2 separate regions of the Homo sapiens genome follow, and region 2 is linked to region 1. Evidence: promoter capture Hi-C in human tissues and cell types (Jung and others, 2019). All regions are on one chromosome and are shown on one strand. Each heading gives the region's core, a stretch centred on a gene start or on the middle of the fragment in contact. The rest is flanking DNA. Distances are from core to core; before and after follow the strand shown.

Region 1 (3,414 bases), core at 615-3,114:
GGGTACAGGTTCCAGCTCTGGGCTGAGACATGATTCAGGGTTCCACCCTGACCTGGGGCTCCTGGAGTCTTGGGGCCCTGGAGGGTCCCGTCCACTGCCCAGACTGACCCAGGTCCTCGATGAAGCCTCATTATGAGGACTGGGGGAAAAGGACCCAGCCACTTCCTGGGGAGGTCGGAGACCCCAGGGTGAGCGTCAAGGTAGCCTCAAAGATGAGACGTCACCTCTTGAAGGCAGCCATGAGCCTTGGGTGGGGACGTCACTAGAGGAAGTTCAGGCCCTATTTTCGGAGGAAGCAGTTGGAGACCCCATAGGAGGAAGGGCGATGGGGCAGTAGAAAGTCGCGGTGTCCCCGCCCCCTCCAGCAGCTACGCGCCCCACTCTCTTGGAGACGCTAGATCAGTCCCTCCGGGCCTACTAAAGAAACCACGCAGGGCTCAGATCCGCTCCATCATCATCATCATCATCATCATCATCATCTCCAGGTTTATTTCCAGCTCCCCCGCAACCCCTCCGGACCTGGAGCCGCCTCCGCCCGCGCTGTGCACGCGCTGCGCGCGACCTCAGGGCTGCACACGACAGCAGCGCGCTCCGGTCCAGTCCATGCCCGCGCACTGGCAGTGACATGTGGTCTCGGCGCGCACATCCCACGAGCCACAGGCGGAGCCACAAGTGCAGCCGGTGACGGCGAAGCCTGCAGCCCGGAACACAGGAGCGTGGACTCTGAGCTGGGAGGCTGAGGGTGGGAGCGGGAGGGGGGTGGGGAGCGCGGAGGGGGGTTGGGGGGGCGGGGGTGGGGACGGGGACGGCTGGAGGCTCCAACCACTGAATGGGCACTGGAGGCAGGGAGTGAGGGTGGACACCAGTGTCCAGATGGTGGGCGGAGAAGGCTGGGAGTCAGGACCAAGATCCTAGGGGAGTAGAGGCTGGACACGGGGAACGTGGCGGGGAGGGGGCATTCCCAGGGGACTTGGAACAGAAATGGGCGCCTGGACAACAGTCTCCTGCACTCACCTCGGGGGCAAGTAGCCAGGTCCCCCCTGGAGGTGACGCTCTGGCACTCCAGGCCAATGCTGCTTATTGCCCTAAATACTGGGGGGCAGGAGGAAAGGAGACAGGGGGAGCTGTGAGACCAAACGGTCCCTCCCCCATCCTCCCCTAGCCCTGTTGGTTTGGAGCTAGGTCCCTGTGGGCATAGGAGCTCACTGGCCTCCAGGACCCTGTCTTGAGTTGGGTGTTTTGGAGTAAGGGAAGGTTTGGAGTGAGAGCGGGGATTGGGTTTGGAGCCGTGGATAAGGTGGGGACAGTCGGAGGGGTTGGGAGTGGAGTTGGGGTTGAATTTATGATCTGGTTGGATTTGAGGATGAGATTTGGTGAGCGCTGGGGCTGGGTTGGAGTCAGGTCTGTGCCAGGGATCAGTGAGGTCTCTGAGACCCTTGGGGAGCTTGCCCAAGTGGGGGGTCCTCACTTAGGGAGCCGGCGACCTCCTGGATCCTCTCATTGATGGCTTCTTCCATGGAGCACAGGGTCTTGCTAGACACCAACAGCCCCAGGACAGGGAGGAGGAGGAGACAGAGAGCTTTCATCCTGCAGGCGCTGAAAGAGGGAACCAAGAGACCCACAGCTGGATCAGCCCTGCCCTGTGGGGAAGATCCGGCCCATGGAGGGAGTAGGATCTGCCCCTGGACCTGGACCCCTGTCCCCCCATGTGGGGGACAGGGATGGAGGCTCAGCCTTGACCCCAGCCTCCCCGCTGGTGCCATGGCAAGCGCAGGAGCAGCTGTCACTTACCCTCTCGGTGGGCTCAGCTAACCAAATCCGGCACACGAATTCCTGCACCGCAGCTCTTTCTTTGAGGCCTCTTGGGGTGGGGCTTCCTGGCTTGGCTAATAAGTCCCTGGGCCCCCAACCCTCCGGTCCCACATCCGGGGCCAAGAGGAAGCCCCTGAGCAGACAGTAAGGGCTGGAGGAGGAAGGGAGCCTTCCCACTTCCAACAGGGCCTCCGTCTTCATGTCCAGAGACTGGTCAGGAGGTGGTGCCCCAGGGATAATGCCAGGGGCTGTGGTCTGAGGAACAGGTAGACAAGCAGAGTTTTGCATGCAAGGGTGGCTGATGCAAACATGACAAAATTAATGCCTCTTGCTAGGCATGGTGCGGACAAGCACTTGTAGTCCCAGCTACTAAGGAGGCTGACGTGAGAGAATTGCTTGAGCCCGGGAGTTCGAAGCTACAGTGACTTATGATCACAGCACTGCACTCCAGTCTGGGCAACAGAGCAAGACCACTTCTCTAAAATAGTAATAATAATTATGTCTCTGGGTGAGAATGACATACCACATTCATACCCAAATGCCCATGAGCAATAGAACTGGTAAATAAAATCATGGTTTATGGCCGGTGGCTCACGCCTGTAATCCCAGCACTTTGGGAGGCCAAGGCGGGCGGATCACTTGAGGTCAGGAGCTTGAGACCAACCTGGCCAACATGATGAAACCCTGTCTCCATTAGACATACAAAAATTAACTGGGCGTGGTGGCGTGTGCCTGTAATCCCAGCTACTTGGGAGGCTGAGGTGGGAGAATCACTTGAACCCGGGATGTGGAGGTTGCAGTGCACTGAGATCGTGCCCCTGCACTCCATCCTGGATGACTAGCTTGGGCACCATAGCAAGACTCCATCTCAAAAAGAAGAAAGAAAAATCATGGTTTATTCCATCAATGGCATCACCTGCAACAGAAGTTGGAAAGCCATTGCTCATGGGCCAAGGTCCAGCTCATGTTTCTTCTTGGACCACCCATGAGCTTGGAATGGTTATTACATTTTTATTTGTTCTTTGTTTCCAGTACAACGGGCCTTTTTGTGGTAAAATACATATAACATACAACTTACCATTATAACTTACTTTTTTCTTTTTTGAGACGGAATCTTGCTCTGTCGCCCAGGCTGGAGTGCAGTGGCGCGATCTCGGCTCACTACAAGCTCCGCCTCCTGGGTTCACGCCATTCTCCTGCTTCAGCCTCCCAAGTAGCTGGGACTACAGGCGCCTGCCACCACGCCCAGCTAATTTTTTGTATTTTTTTTTTTTTAGTAGAGATGGAGTTTCACCGTGTTAGCCAGGATGGTCTCGATCCCCTGACCTTGTGATCTGCCCGCCTTGGCCTCCCAAAGTGCTGGGATTACAGGCGTGAACCACCGTGCCCGGCCTTTTTTTTTTTTTTTTTGAGACGGGGTCTTGCTATGTTGCCCAAGCTAGTGTCAGACTCCTGGCTTCAAGTAATCCTCCCACCTTGGACTCCCCAGTAGCTGAAGCTACAGGTATGCACCATCTTGTTCCATTTTAACCATTGCTTTTGTTTGTTTCTTTGTTTCAGAGTCTCACTCAGTTGCTCAGGCTGGAGTACAGTGGCTCAATC
Region 2 (2,785 bases), core at 286-2,785, 63 kb before region 1:
TGTTTACATATCTACAAGAGGGGCTGGAACATTCTATTAAGTGCTCAACATTTCACCTTGTCAGTGAGGCTGGCCCTGGCCACCCTAGCCACTGCCCACTGCCTAGTGCCCATCCCAGTCCTGCCAAGTACTTATCCTACTGGATTTTTTCTTCCCTTAATGTTTTTTCATAGCATTTATGACTTTTGAATAGAGTATACTACGGTTCCCACCTTTTGCACTATGGACATTAGGAGTCAGATCATTCTTTGCTATGGGGGATGTCTTAGGCATTGTAGGGCTTTGCGCAGCATCCCTGGCCTCTACCCACTAGATGCCTGGAGCACACACACACACACACACACACACACACACACATTCTGTGACAACCAAAAGTGTCTCCAGACATAGCCAAATGTCCCCTGGTGGGCGTAATTGCCCCCAGCTGGGAACTACTATGCTATACAACTTATGTTTTCAATTATGTTTATTACGTTGAGTATGGAGTCTGTCTCCCCACACTTCTAGAATATTAGCTCCAAGAAGAGAGGAATTTGCTTATTTTACTCTCTGATGTGGCCCCAGTTCCAAGATCAATGCCTGGCATATGGCAGGTGCTCAATGTTTGTTGAAAGAATGCATGAACACTGAGTGTTTTTGATATGCCTGAAATGGTGCTAGGTAGACATGTATAACCTCATTGTCTTTATTTTTTTATTTTTTCAATTTTTGTTTTCATATATATATATATATATATATTTTTTTTTTTTTTTCAGAAATGAGGGTCTTGTTATATTGCCCAGGCTGGTCTGGTCTGGAACTCCTGGGCTCAGTGATCCTTCCATGTCGGCCTCCCAAAGTGCTGGGATTACAGGTGTGAGCCAGCAAGACTGTCTTGTTTCTTTATCATAGCATCTTTGTGAGAGAGGCCCATCGCTATCTCCTTTACAGTGGGGAAAACTAAGGCTTCTAGAAGCTACCTAGAACCCATACAGTGGTAGAGTCCTGCAGCTCCGCCGGCTACCTCCCTAACAAAACTGTTTGTTCCCTTCTGGTACAGAGGGACTGGATCAAGGTCAGGTTCAAACCCAGCCTCTGCAGGCACCTGCAGGGGAGTTGAGAAGGGACCTGAACTGGCCTGGGGGGCTATGCCTGAGGGGGCTTTCTCAGGAGCCAGCAGGGGTTACAATTTGGTCGGGTTCAGTGTGTCCCTCGCGGGATAAAACCCAGCCCCAGGCCCATAAGAGATGGTGACTAAGCTCCAAAGAGAAGCCTCCAGCCCCAGGCCCATAAGAGATGGTGACTAAGCTCCAAAGAGAAGCCTCCAGCACCAGCCTGGGGATGGAGCTGCAGTGGCCAGAACCAGGAGGCTGGAACCGCCCGGCCTCACTCCAGCCCAGCCCAGCCCAGCCTTGAAAGGGCCCAATCCTGTGATTGGTCCATGGGTTCCCGTTGCCAGGAATTAAGGCCAAGAAAATGGGAAGGAAGGAAGGGAGTGCGTAGGTCCAGTGAGAACAGGCGTGAAATTTATATCTCTGCCCAGGACTGGGTGCCTGCATCGCCATGGACACCACCAGGTACAGCAAGTGGGGCGGCAGCTCCGAGGAGGTCCCCGGAGGTATGAGCAAGGAGACTGCCCCATCCCTGCCCCAGTGTCTGGGGTTTGATGGGGGAGGGGAGGGAAGAGTCGAGACAGGCCAGGGTTGTGGGTGCAGGAGAGACACCACAGGCCATAGAGCCAGTTGGACCAGGGTCCAATTCCAACTCTGCCGCTTAGAAGCTGTGTGACCATAGGCAAGTTACTTAACTTCTCTGAATCTCAGTTTCCTGGGAGTAACTCAGGCCTCCAGGGCTCAGTTCTGGGGGACCCAGCATGCCGTCCTTGTTATGCCAGGGCCCTGGGGACGCTGGGTGCACTGGAGCAGGAGACCCCTCTTCTTGGCCCTGGCTGTCCTGGTCACCACAGTCCTTTGGGCTGTGATTCTGAGTATCCTATTGTCCAAGGGTGAGTGACTCTCAATGGGGAGGTGTTGCATCCGGCCCCCCTGGGGACAGAAAACCCCCACTGCATGGCGCACCAGCTGCATCCTGGGGTCCTGTTCGCGTCTGAGTGTGAGCAGAGTGTGTGTACATCTTTGGGCCGTGTGCACTCACGCGTGTGCACATGGCGTGCTCGTATGTGCGCGAGTCCCCGCGCGTTTGTCTCCCATCGGCGTGTGTGCACATCGTGTGAGCTGTATGCCTGCCCGCCCGCTCCGTGCTCCCGAGTTGGGGGACGCTGCACCCCCCGGGCGAGGGGAGGATTCCCGAGTTCCCGGCCTCGCCTGCAGGAGCCTCTCTCCTCAGCCTCCACGGAGCGCGCGGCGCTGCTTGACGGCCACGACCTGCTGAGGACAAACGGTGTGTGCAGAGCCGGGCGCCTGGGCCCCCGGGGCGTGAGGGGCGGGAGTTTCTGAGACCCCGGAGATGGAGTCTCGAGTGCGTGGGGGCCCTATGGTCCCTGAGGCTGGAAGGGGGTCCCCTGAGTCCTCCCAAGTGACCCGAGGGGCATGCATTTTGGGGCGGGGGTCGTTCCAGCCTCGAAGCAGACGGCGGCGCTGGGTGCCCTGAAGGAGGAGGTCGGAGACTGCCACAGCTGCTGTGAGGGGGCGCGGTCGAGGCTGTGGGCGCAGGGATGGGGTCTTGCGGCCGCGATGGGAGGGGGGCCGGGGCGGAGGCCTGCGGCGGGTGGTGCGGGGCGGGGGCTGGTCTCCGAAGTCCCGCCCCATCCTCGCCGCCCTCGCCCCTCTCACCCTGCGGCTCCCAG

Evidence for each region. Contacts are between HindIII fragments. The study calls those that stand out against the background at their distance.
Region 2: the fragment with the promoter of CLEC4G here is called in contact with the fragment with the promoter of RETN in region 1 in 1 of the 25 tissues and cell types used here (stomach).

What each region holds. Positions count from the first base shown.
Region 1 is chr19:7,667,499-7,670,912 of GRCh38, reverse strand. It overlaps RETN (resistin), which reads right to left and starts at 1,864. Exons shown (of 4, transcript NM_020415.4): 1 at 1,792-1,864; 2 at 1,469-1,596; 3 at 1,015-1,092; 4 at 458-694. The coding sequence starts at 1,586. The coding sequence ends at 564. The HindIII fragment of the contact is 23,719 bases long and covers 1-3,414 here.
Region 2 is chr19:7,730,860-7,733,644 of GRCh38, reverse strand. CLEC4G (C-type lectin domain family 4 member G) reads left to right here and starts at 1,535. Exons shown (of 9, transcript NM_198492.4): 1 at 1,535-1,597; 2 at 1,874-1,984; 3 at 2,326-2,379; 4 at 2,557-2,619. The coding sequence starts at 1,543. RefSeq lists a cis regulatory region at 1,461-1,470 and promoters at 1,277-1,540, 1,228-1,540, 934-1,540. The HindIII fragment of the contact is 14,896 bases long and covers 1-2,785 here.